Linked DNA regions of Homo sapiens: region 2 is linked to region 1. The links are contacts of gene promoters, found by promoter capture Hi-C in human tissues and cell types (Jung and others, 2019). All regions are on one chromosome and are shown on one strand. Each heading gives the region's core, a stretch centred on a gene start or on the middle of the fragment in contact. The rest is flanking DNA. Distances are from core to core; before and after follow the strand shown. Region 1 holds the start of FBXL17 (F-box and leucine rich repeat protein 17). Region 2 overlaps MAN2A1 (mannosidase alpha class 2A member 1).

What was found. The method cuts DNA at HindIII sites, captures the fragments that hold promoters and counts their contacts. A contact is called where the count stands out against the background at its distance.
Region 2: a fragment that was not itself captured here is called in contact with the fragment with the promoter of FBXL17 in region 1 in 1 of the 25 tissues and cell types used here (lymphoblastoid cells).

What each region holds. Positions count from the first base shown.
Region 1 is chr5:108,378,526-108,383,903 of GRCh38, reverse strand. It overlaps FBXL17 (F-box and leucine rich repeat protein 17), which reads left to right and starts at 1,806. Exons shown (of 9, transcript NM_001163315.3): 1 at 1,806-3,205. The coding sequence starts at 2,213. RefSeq lists an enhancer at 1,436-1,555 and silencers at 1,656-1,905, 2,106-2,855, 2,876-2,955. The HindIII fragment of the contact is 17,757 bases long and covers 1-5,378 here.
Region 2 is chr5:109,740,394-109,745,917 of GRCh38, reverse strand. The region is part of intron 4 of MAN2A1 (mannosidase alpha class 2A member 1); the gene reads right to left. Among named protein-coding and RNA genes, the nearest start is that of MAN2A1-DT, 52 kb to the right of the region's middle. The HindIII fragment of the contact is 6,334 bases long and covers 1-5,515 here.

The sequences.
Region 1 (5,378 bases), core at 557-3,056:
ACGGTGGCTATTCACATGCATAATCATAACAAGCTGGGCTTAAGCGATCCTCACGCCTCACCAGCCCTGTTGTAGTTTGAATGATAGGTACCACCACATCTGGCTCTGACAGGTTCATATTTTTGACATAAAGTTACAAAACACTTTATAATACTCTTGCCTTTTGTGAAAGTGCAGCCTAGTAGAGATGTCAAAGGATCTGTAATAAGTCCTCAAGCACTGCTCTGGGGCCCTGGAAGATTCTCCTACAGGCAAATGGATGAAAGTTATGTGGATTATATGTGTACGTAAATGTCGTTCAGGCAATGCATTTGATAGTGAATAGCGTGTATGTCTGTGAAATCTTTTGACAAATATTTGCTTCTAGAATTCCACATAACTGTCATTAGGCTCTGAAAGGATCCCTGAATGTGACAGACTTAAGATTGGTCATTTCTGACAAAAAGGCCAGAATTAACAATTGTTTGACAGCATGTTTGAGAGCAGGCTGGGTGGGGCTGGCCACTATAGTGGGAATAGCAATGTAGGTTCCAACAGTGGTCTTCTCCAAGCCACTGGGCCTTGAATATTGCAATACTTCTTCCTCAGTCAGCTCTCTCAAGTTATCCTTAGCAGATTTTTTTTTAAACACCTGCCACTTCTCTTCCACCCTTCAGCAGGTAACCAAGCTCTATCTGAAGCAAAACAGAAACCAACAGAAAGGAACTCTTTCACCTTCCTGCTAGAAACATCCACCTCTCTGTATCCGTCCTTTATCTACCTTTCCTCATTCTCTGTAATCACAATGAAGAAAGTATCCTTCCTAAAGCACTCTCCATTCCACCTTCTCCTCTTATTTCTCTCACTAGAGTGGCTCATTCCCATGGTATTTGCCTCCTCTAATTTTTCGCTTGTGAAAGCTAACCTCTCCGCACCAGGTACCGCTCTAGCAGCTGCCCTAGCTCTTTAGCCTCGATATAGTCAAACCTTCTAAAGGACTGCCTGCATAGCTGTTTCCTCTTTCTCATCTGGATCACCAACGTTTGTCATATAGCAGGCACTGCACCGTCATGTTTAAAATATACAACAGACGGCTAGACAGGATTCCGAGGGTGTAGACAATAAAGTGATCTACAGTTTGTAGCCTGGGTGTTGAATGGCTCACTGGGTGGGGAAGCTGTTATCTTTCTGCTGTGCACAGGTAATTTGATATATGCTTTCATTCTGAAATAAAGTTGTGGAAAGGCAGTAGTACGCAACAATTAAGAAAACACAAGTGGGTAAACAGTGGTGCCGCACAACCAATCAACCCCTCACATGACTTCGGTGCGCATCACCCAGGGGCCGCATCTGCCACTCTGCCCGAAGCGCGGTCAGCGCCCACACTGGCCCTTCCGGCGGAACCCGCCTCGCGGCTTCGAAGTGGCCTCGGTTTCCGAGTCAGGGGTGGTGACAGGGGTGGAAGGTGAGGGGAAGAGCCCAGCGGCTCCCGGCCAATGGCAGCTCTTGAACTTACACCTCGAGACGTCAGCGCGGCTGTGTAAACGGATGTCACACAGCTGGCTCGGAAGTGTCTCCTCCCGCCTCAGAAACGCGGCGCACGCCCAGCAGCTTCGGAAAAACCTTAGGCGGTGGGAGGGAGGGGCGTGCGCCGCACCCCGCAAGCCCAGAGCTCCGTGCCCTAGCCGGCCGGCTTCTTCCCGTAGTGCCGGTGTGACGGCCGTCCCGGGTGAGCAGCCGGGTGCCGGCGTCCCCGCCACGAGCGCGCCACCGCAACTGGCTCCGCCCCCTGCCGGAACGGGCCGCGCGCTCCTGCGGCTCCGAGCAGAGTCGCGGGTGCGCGCGCCGGCGGCGGATCCGCAGTTAAAATGGTCCGAGCGGGACCCGGCCTTTCCCCGGCCGCTCCGCTGACTGACTGAGCCGGCTGGCCGGGCCCGGACTGGTCGCCTAGCCGGCAGGCTCGCTCGCTCCCTCCCTCGCGTCCCCAAAGCTCGCGCCCATCGTTCTCCCGGCTTCCCTGGGCAAAGCATGTAGCCCCCGTCGGGCACTCCGGCGGCCCGCAGCTGACGCCCACCCCCCACCGTCGCGTGTGTGCCCGTGTGTGCGTGTGTGTGCGCAGGAAGGGCGACCCCTCCGGGGGCCGAGCCAGCGAGCGGCCTGCCCCGCTGCCGGGAGCCCGCCTCTCTGGGTCTCCCTCCCTCCCGTCCCGGTCCCCCTCCTCGGGGCCTTCTATATGGGCCACCTTCTCTCGAAGGAGCCGCGTAACCGCCCGAGCCAGAAGAGGCCTCGCTGTTGCAGTTGGTGCCGCCGCCGGCGCCCTCTCCTCAGGCTGCCCCGCCGGACCCCAGCCAAGGTGCCCCCTCAGCCGGCGGCGCCCCGGAGCCGGGACTGCTTCTTCCGCGGGCCCTGCATGCTCTGCTTCATCGTGCACAGTCCCGGCGCGCCCGCCCCCGCCGGCCCAGAGGAGGAGCCGCCGCTCTCGCCGCCGCCGCGGGACGGGGCCTACGCTGCCGCCTCCTCCTCTCAGCACCTGGCGCGGCGCTACGCGGCCCTGGCCGCCGAGGACTGCGCCGCTGCTGCCCGCCGCTTCCTGCTATCCTCGGCCGCCGCCGCCGCCGCCGCTGCCGCCTCGGCTTCGTCGCCCGCCTCCTGCTGCAAAGAGTTGGGGCTGGCTGCGGCCGCCGCCTGGGAGCAGCAGGGCCGAAGTCTCTTCCTGGCCAGCTTGGGGCCGGTGCGCTTCCTGGGGCCGCCCGCCGCCGTGCAGCTCTTCCGGGGGCCGACACCGTCACCGGCCGAGCTCCCTACGCCCCCCGAAATGGTGTGCAAGCGGAAGGGGGCCGGGGTCCCCGCCTGCACCCCCTGCAAGCAGCCCCGCTGCGGCGGCGGGGGCTGCGGCGGCGGCGGCGGCGGCGGTGGCGGGGGAGGGCCTGCGGGGGGAGGCGCTTCGCCGCCCCGGCCCCCCGACGCCGGCTGCTGCCAGGCCCCGGAGCAGCCCCCGCAGCCGCTCTGCCCTCCGCCCTCTTCTCCCACCTCCGAAGGTGCCCCCACCGAAGCTGGCGGGGACGCTGTCCGAGCCGGGGGCACCGCCCCCTTGTCCGCCCAGCAGCAGCATGAATGTGGCGACGCGGACTGTCGGGAGTCCCCCGAAAACCCCTGCGACTGTCACAGGGAGCCGCCCCCCGAAACCCCAGACATCAACCAGCTGCCGCCGTCCATCCTGCTCAAGGTGGGTCTGGGCGAGAGGCGCAGGGATGCTCGCTTTCCCCCACCCCCGGCCCCCGCCTCCGAGGCTTTCTCTCTCCTCCCCCTAAGCGCGGAGGAGGGGGGTTCCCTGGCAGCCTAGGGACGTCCCAAGGGGAGACTGGGAAGCCAGTGGGGCCTCTGCCTATGGCCTATTTTTTGAAGTAGGAGCACTTGGAGTCTACTGAATGTCTTTTAATAGCTTGACTCTATAACCCACCATTCAGGGTTCAGCTATTATTAGAATCCCAACCCAGTGGTTTAGAAACTTCGCAGGTATTCTGTGGAAAAAAAAATTTTTTAATCGAGGAATTTATACTTAGTGGGTAAAGGCTTTGCATGTTGGTGTTTGAAAGTCTTTAAACATTACTTTCATGTTTGATGGCTGGTAGTTAATGTCAAACGGTTAACTTACTGAGCATTTACCATAATCAGGCACTGCGCCAGACTTTATATATATAATATCCCATTTATCTAGTTAACGCTTCGAGATAAATACTGTTAATATCTTTATTTTATACAGGAAGAAACTGATTTCTCCGTGCTGTGGGCCACGGTTTATAGTAGTGAGTCAGGCAGAAGTGGTCTTTGCTCCTGTGGAGCTGACAGTCTAGTGGGGCTTGAAGTGGTTGAATGACTTGTGCAAGGTCACATACAGAAAGTAAAGGGTAGATCTAGGTCTTGAATGAGGGAATTTAAGACCACCTGACTTAAAAACCTCTTTGTTTATGCTATGTTGTAATGCCCTTCTACATTTTAACCCTTGCATAAAAGCATACAGATTACCAGAGGTAAGCACAGATGTATTTTTTGTTGGGAGATGGGTGTCCTGCATGAAGTTTGTGTCATTTTCAACTACCAAGAATATTTTGCAGTTTTGTCAATGCTAGTGACAAACTTTAGTTACATAATAGAGTTTTTATTAAGTTATTATTAACTTTTTCCCTCCTTTTCTCTCTTCTCCCACCCTACCCTATTTGGAGCTTAATAAATATAAACCATTTTCATTGTGGATGATACTAGAGACTAGCCATAAATAACCTTGATAAGAATTTGGCTACTTTTACCGTTACTGAAGTAACTGTCATTAATTACAATTGTTATTGTCACCAATATAGTTTCTTTGACTAGACTTTTTGCATATTTACAGTACTGTGTGTTTGGGTCTGTTTTACAGTGATATTATTGTTCTTGTGAGTGATACAGCAAGAGGGTGGGAAAACTTACATTTCCTTGTGTCAAAATGTAATGATCTAATTCTTATGGAGGTCTACTTGTTGGAAGAGTAATTGCCTACTCTTTGTGTGCAGAGGTGCATTTTAGGACAAAGGGAACTTTCTTGAGTCCTTTAAATCACTGGGTGATATGGATAAATAAAATATCAACAAATATTTGGTATAGAAACTTGATTGCTGTCTTCTTATTTGGCAAATAAGACTGTTTCAAAATGAACCAAAACAAAGCCAGGTACCTTCTACTTACAAATTATTTCATGAGGTAAAAAACATTTTAATGCCGAGAAAAAAAAGGGACATGATCTCATAATAAAGAGAAACTCTAATAGAATAAAATAAACTTATCCTATACCGCGTTGTTCTCTTTCATATTTTTTCCTGAGGATTGTTGAAAACTTTGTCTAAAGGACATATGGGAATTACCATGGGCTTGCCCTATTGTGTGTATTTGGACATGTTATGTAGATTTCCATTCCTTGTATTAGAAAATTCTAATAAAGATTCTCTGTCTGAGTCTGATGGTCCTAGTGGTATTCAGCACGAAGTGAGCTGTACTGTCTGGGATGAATTGAATTAGCGATTGTTCAGTGTCTGCCAACCCCAGTTTTTGGGTGCAGCGACTCTGGATTCGTAATCTTGTTCATTGCTCTGTCTCCTCCTTTAAGTGCAGTGTCTGGCATATAGTAGCGCTCAGTAAATACTTACGAACGAATGTATCATCAGGTGTTTAGAGTCTGTGCTGAGACTCAGGGTGAATACGCCACACCACGAAGAGATATTTCTAAGGAATGTCCATATTCTGACTGGAGTTGCTGTTGGAGCCACGGTAGAGCCATGTGGTGGTGAAAGGATTCTGGCTCTGCTGGTAAGGACTGGAGTTGTTTGACTTGGAGAAGGGAAGACTTATGGAGCTATGACAATTTT
Region 2 (5,524 bases), core at 1,099-3,598, 1.4 Mb before region 1:
GGACCAAGTGCAGTGGCTCACACCTATAATCCCTGTGCTTTGGGAGACCAATGCAGGAGGATCACCTCAGGCCAGGGGTTTGAGGACCAGCCTGTGAAATATAGTAAAACCTATCTCTACAAAATTATAAAAATTGGCTAGGCATGGTGGCCTGCACCTGTAGATCCTAGCTACTCAGGAGTCTGAGGTAGAGTATCACTTGAGCCCGGAGTTTGAGGTTGCAGTGAGCTATGATAGTACCACTGCACTCCAGCCTGAGTGACAAAGACCCTGTCTCTAAAATTAATTAATTAATTTAATTTAATAGAAATAAAAATAAATTTCTCATATGGTTCAATAATTTCTGCAAAGTTTTAATAAGCAGGGGATGTACTTTAAATCTTTCACTGTATAGTAAACAATACTTTATTCATAAAATACTCATTCAAAATAAGTTGAAAAATGTGAAAGACGTTAAAGAATAAAATTTAAAAACTCACTACCTTGATATATATGCACAAAGGGTTATGGGAGCCAGAGTTTTTAACCAAGTTAATTTACTTAACATTATACCATGAGCATCTTTCCATATCAAGAGAGACATATATCATTATGTTTACTGTATTGTATTATATTATTGTATTTATTGTATTGTATGTTTATATTGTATTACATTTTCTAAAATATTTTAATTGAGATATAACAATATACAATACACATATTTTCAGTCTCATGAATTGTGACAACTGTAATCACTATCCAAAATAATATAGACTACTTCCACCAATTCAGAGAGTTCCCTCATGCCCCGTTCCAATCCATGCTCGCCCACTCACCCTGCCCCCAAAAAACACTCTGACATTCCATTTCTATCACAATAGATCAGTTGAGTCTCCTCTCAGAATTCATAAAATGGAAATCAAACAATATTTACTCTTCTGTCTCTCTTCTTCTGCTGAACATTTGTGAGACTCATCCATATTACTGTGTATTTCAGTAATTTATCATTTTTTTACTGCTAGGTATTCTGTTGTATGAATATACAACAATTTTTTAATCCATCACCTGCTGAAGGACATTTAAACTGCTTGCAGTTTGAAGTTACTAGGAAAAAGCCTGTATGAAAATGTCTGTACAAGTCTTTTTGTGAACATTTTTTCATTTCTCTTGGGTAAATTGCTAGGAGTGGAGCCCCCAGATCACATGGTATATATTTTAAGTTTGGAAAACTCTTTGGAGGCTTTTCAGAAAGTCGCCCCCATTTTGCATTCCCACCCGCAACATATGAGTTTCTGTTGCTACACATTCTTGCCAACTTTTGACGTTGTCATCTTTTTTATTTTAGCCATTCTAAAAGGGTTGGAAACAGTATCTTCTAGAAGTTTTGATATGTATCTCCCTGATGGCCAAGATTTACCCAGCTTCTACACACACACCCTCGCTGCCCACCCTCCCCAACTGCTGCTGTCTAATAAACATCTTTCAGATGTTCAAACATGCCCTTGTTAATCCCTGGCCCATAATCACCATTCTCTTCTCACAACCTAAAATTCCTTCTCTGCCCTCTGACACCCACTTCTTGACTGGCTAGTTCTAGTCATCATTCAGGTTTAAGCTTGAATATCATTTGCTTCAGGAGGCCTTCCAAGACCCCCTTCTTGCCTCTATAGAAGAAAACCCTTTATTATTATACTGTGTTTAATTACATGTCTTCCCTGCTGTTTTCTGAGGGCTGGGACCAGGTCAGTCTTGCTTACCTCCTACATTTCTGGAGCATAACACAATAAATATTTGCTGAATGAATGGTAGAAGTAAATAAGGGAAGGTTTCAGAGATGAGGTAATATTTCAGCTGAGTGTTAAAAATGAGTAAGACTGAAATTATCCACTGCACAAAAGGAAAAAAATAAAAATCCAAGCTGAACACAGGCAAATTCCTAAGAAGCACAAAACGGCATGTGTCTGAGGACACCCGTGGCTCAGAATGCCTGAGTAGAGTGTGAAGCAGGAAGTGACTGGAGATAAGGATGAGCAAGTCGGGAGGAATCAGACAGAAAAAGTCAGTATGTGTCAGGCAAAGGATAGTGGCCTGTGCCTTTTGAGACTGAAGCACCACAAAGCATTTTAAAGCAAACATGGTGGGACTCACATATTAGAAAACTAACTCTGTTGATGAAATGGCAGACACTTAGAAGTGGCACAGCTGGAAATGGAAAGGCCATTTGGAGGTTTTCACAATAGTACGAGACAAGAGCAATGGAGACGAAAAGCAGGGGTCAGAGTCTGGAGACACTGAAGAGGCAGAAGTCACAGAGTTTAGGGACTAACTGGATGTCACAGGAAAGGGAGGTGGAAAGGCAGAGCACCACAGAGGTGAAGATTATTTGCCCACTATTTCTGGGGCAAGACTGCCTGGCTTGGGTCCTATTTCCACACTTACTAGCTGGGTGACCTTAGGCACTTTCCTTAACACCTCTGCTTCAGATTCCTCAACAGGAGAATGAAGATGATAAAGAACCTTAACTCAAGAGAATGCTACAGGATTGGCTGAATAATTAAACGAGTGCTTATCTCTTACTATTGCCACTAACTAGAGAACAAGAAGTCCAGGTTGGATCTTTAGATCTGGAAGTAGTCCAAATGCCTGGTAATTAAAACAACAGTGTGGAAAAGCATGCAAAATGAAGAAAACTAAGCAGTGTTCCCCAACAGGCGAGAACAGGAACATTGGGGAAGTAAGCAGAAGAGGAAATCAGAGAGGTGATGAAAAATGAATGGTCAGCAGTGCCAGAATAGACCCGAAAGTGAAAGAGCTCAAGGTCACTTCAAAGCCAAAAGAGGACAGAATTTCGAGGAGAATGGAGTGATCGATGTCAATGCTGCAAAAAAATCCTCTCTGAGGCTTGAGAAAGTATCCAAGGGATGGGCAGAGCACCTGAGAAGTCCCTCATGGCTTTTACAGGTCTCCATGACATAAATAGATGCCAGTGGTTGAAGGGAATGAGAGGTGGAAGGATAGCCGTCTCACTCAAGACGAACTGGAATTGAAAAGGTAGGGATAGAACATATGCTTTCTAAAATAAACGTAAACCACTGCTTCAACTATTAGAACTAAAGTTATTTTAGACCCTGGTGCATTGCTTTCAGTGCTTTGATGAAATGCTAAATATCTTTAGATTCTAAACTCAATCCAAATCTGCAAATGACTCTGAATATCACAAGACACACTGTAACTTCCCATTGCTCTATAAATTTTACAGCAACCTTCAGTTAAATACCATAAAATCCAACCTGTATAAAACGTATAATGAATTAGTCTGTTTAGGAAGATTAATAGTCCAATTTCTTAGAAAACCCAAGATGCACATTAGTTAAGTTTGGATTCTTATTTAAAAATGTAACATCAAATATTTCTCTGATTTCAAGAAGCAAGCAGAGATAGTTGAGAAGACAGTGGAAGGTTCACTTAAATATAAACCTAGGGGAAAAATTGTAAGAAGATAGTACAAAGATTATATAAATAAAGAGTTTGCATTCTTGCTAAAGCAATGAAACCCACCAATTTGGTGAAGATAAAAAATCTATACTAACTGATGGTACCTTCATCTCAGCACACATTTGGAGCCCCTTTTCACACTAAAAGATCCACAAAGAGAAACTGGTCAAGACTTTGGTGAATATATAAACTGTTCTTAGGTTCTAATAATTCGTGGGTTTCTCCACTCAACACTGGTCTCAATAGCAAGAGCAGATGCAATATAAAAGCTGTTCCAATATCTCAGAGCCCAGAGAGGAACAATGAATATGTAACATGCTGTGTGCTAGTCAAAGGAAATGCTAAGGCTAATGTTTCAGCTGCCTGACTCTCAATAAGGGTTCACATTTTGATGTATTATAAACATCATGCAGTATTTAACTGCATTTAGCCAAAAAATATTCAAATGTGAAGCCTAAAAAGTTTTAAAAAATTACACCACCAGTCATTTTCAAAATAAAACAAGCATAGAAAACAATACACTGATTATTTAATGGAAGGCAGCTTCTTTTAAATCCACTGGATATGTATTACCAGTAGGTACTATGATTATAATTGATTAAATTATTTCAGATCACACAAAAAAACAGAAAATATAGATGTTGTTTACGTAGATCTCTCTTTAGTTAACTAGATTTTCACTTTTAAAAGCTTATAGAGTTGAATAATAATGCTGCTGGGGGAGGGGATAAGAATCAAACAAGTCACTGCTAGAATAGATTATAAGGATCATTTGAGTTTTGTTTCTGTTAAGTTCCCACAATCAATTGGTATTCTTCAGGGACAATGAAAGCTTACGTGGAACTCTGCTGGAATTAACAGGTTCTGCTCTGCAACAGCTAGCTTGCAAATTTAGGTACAGATTTAATCCATAGCTCATCTTCAAAAAGAGAAAAGCCACTGCATAAGCATTACACTAGAAGTCACACAAAAAAATCTATTAGTAATGCCACTTAGTACAAGCTCAGAATTTAAATAACAGGAGCAAACTTAAATATCTATTAAGTTTTCCTCCAAAAACATACATTTAAGCAACTAACACTAAGAATGTTTTGTTCAAGTAAGTGGGGGGGAATGCTATTACCCTAGTTCTAAAAACAAATGTAATAAGTGAATAAAAGTGAATTATTACAGCTAGAAGAGAGAGAACTTTAGCAAATCTTGACCAGAAACAGAATTCATCTGCACTAATCTGGCTATAAAACCATTTTTCCTTCAAGCAAAATGATACTGTTCACGATCAAGCCTGTATTCCAGAATATTTTCCAATGCCAAAAAAGCTGTTCTCACTCAGAAGGAATCTGAGTGAGACAAATCTGAGTGAGACAAAGATTGAGCACTAGATTCTAATCTGCAGTCCCCTCCAATATCTTACCATATTTTATGTGTAATATTGGACTGATGCATGAAATTGCCATTTTTGTATATCAAAAGTAGTCAAATATTGGCAATTTTATATGGTTCAACCTAAGAAAAATAACCAACAGAATAAAAAAAAGAGAGAGGGGAGGAAAATTTGCATCCAGGTAGAGTCAGGAGAAACAGGCCATCCGCAGGCCATAAAATTGGCAGCATTTCTGACAGATATGGTAAAAGTAAAACTGAAATAATTCAAGTACTGACCTGCAACTGCCCTGCATGAAAAATCAGCATGGAATCCCAGCATAAATAAGAAGATTCTGAGAGATTCGGTCAACAGCTCCTAAACTGAAGGGCCAAGGGCTGAGGCAAAGCTGAGTCTTGGGACAGATACTAATCACAGACTCTTCGCCCTCATGGCACTTGTGTGAGTCCCCCTCTGCAGAAGTCTCTCTGCCCATGCACTGTGACTGCTGCAGAGGCAGTCTCCTTAATGAAGCCATGCTGGGAGAGAGCCAAGCATGGCTGGCCTCACCTGACCACAAGCAGCCAGCAGCAGACCCAGTTTCCTTCTGAGGTGGCTGGACTCTGTGAAGCAGCACATTCAGACACACATCTCCTACCTGGCTTACAGGCCACACAAAAACAAAGC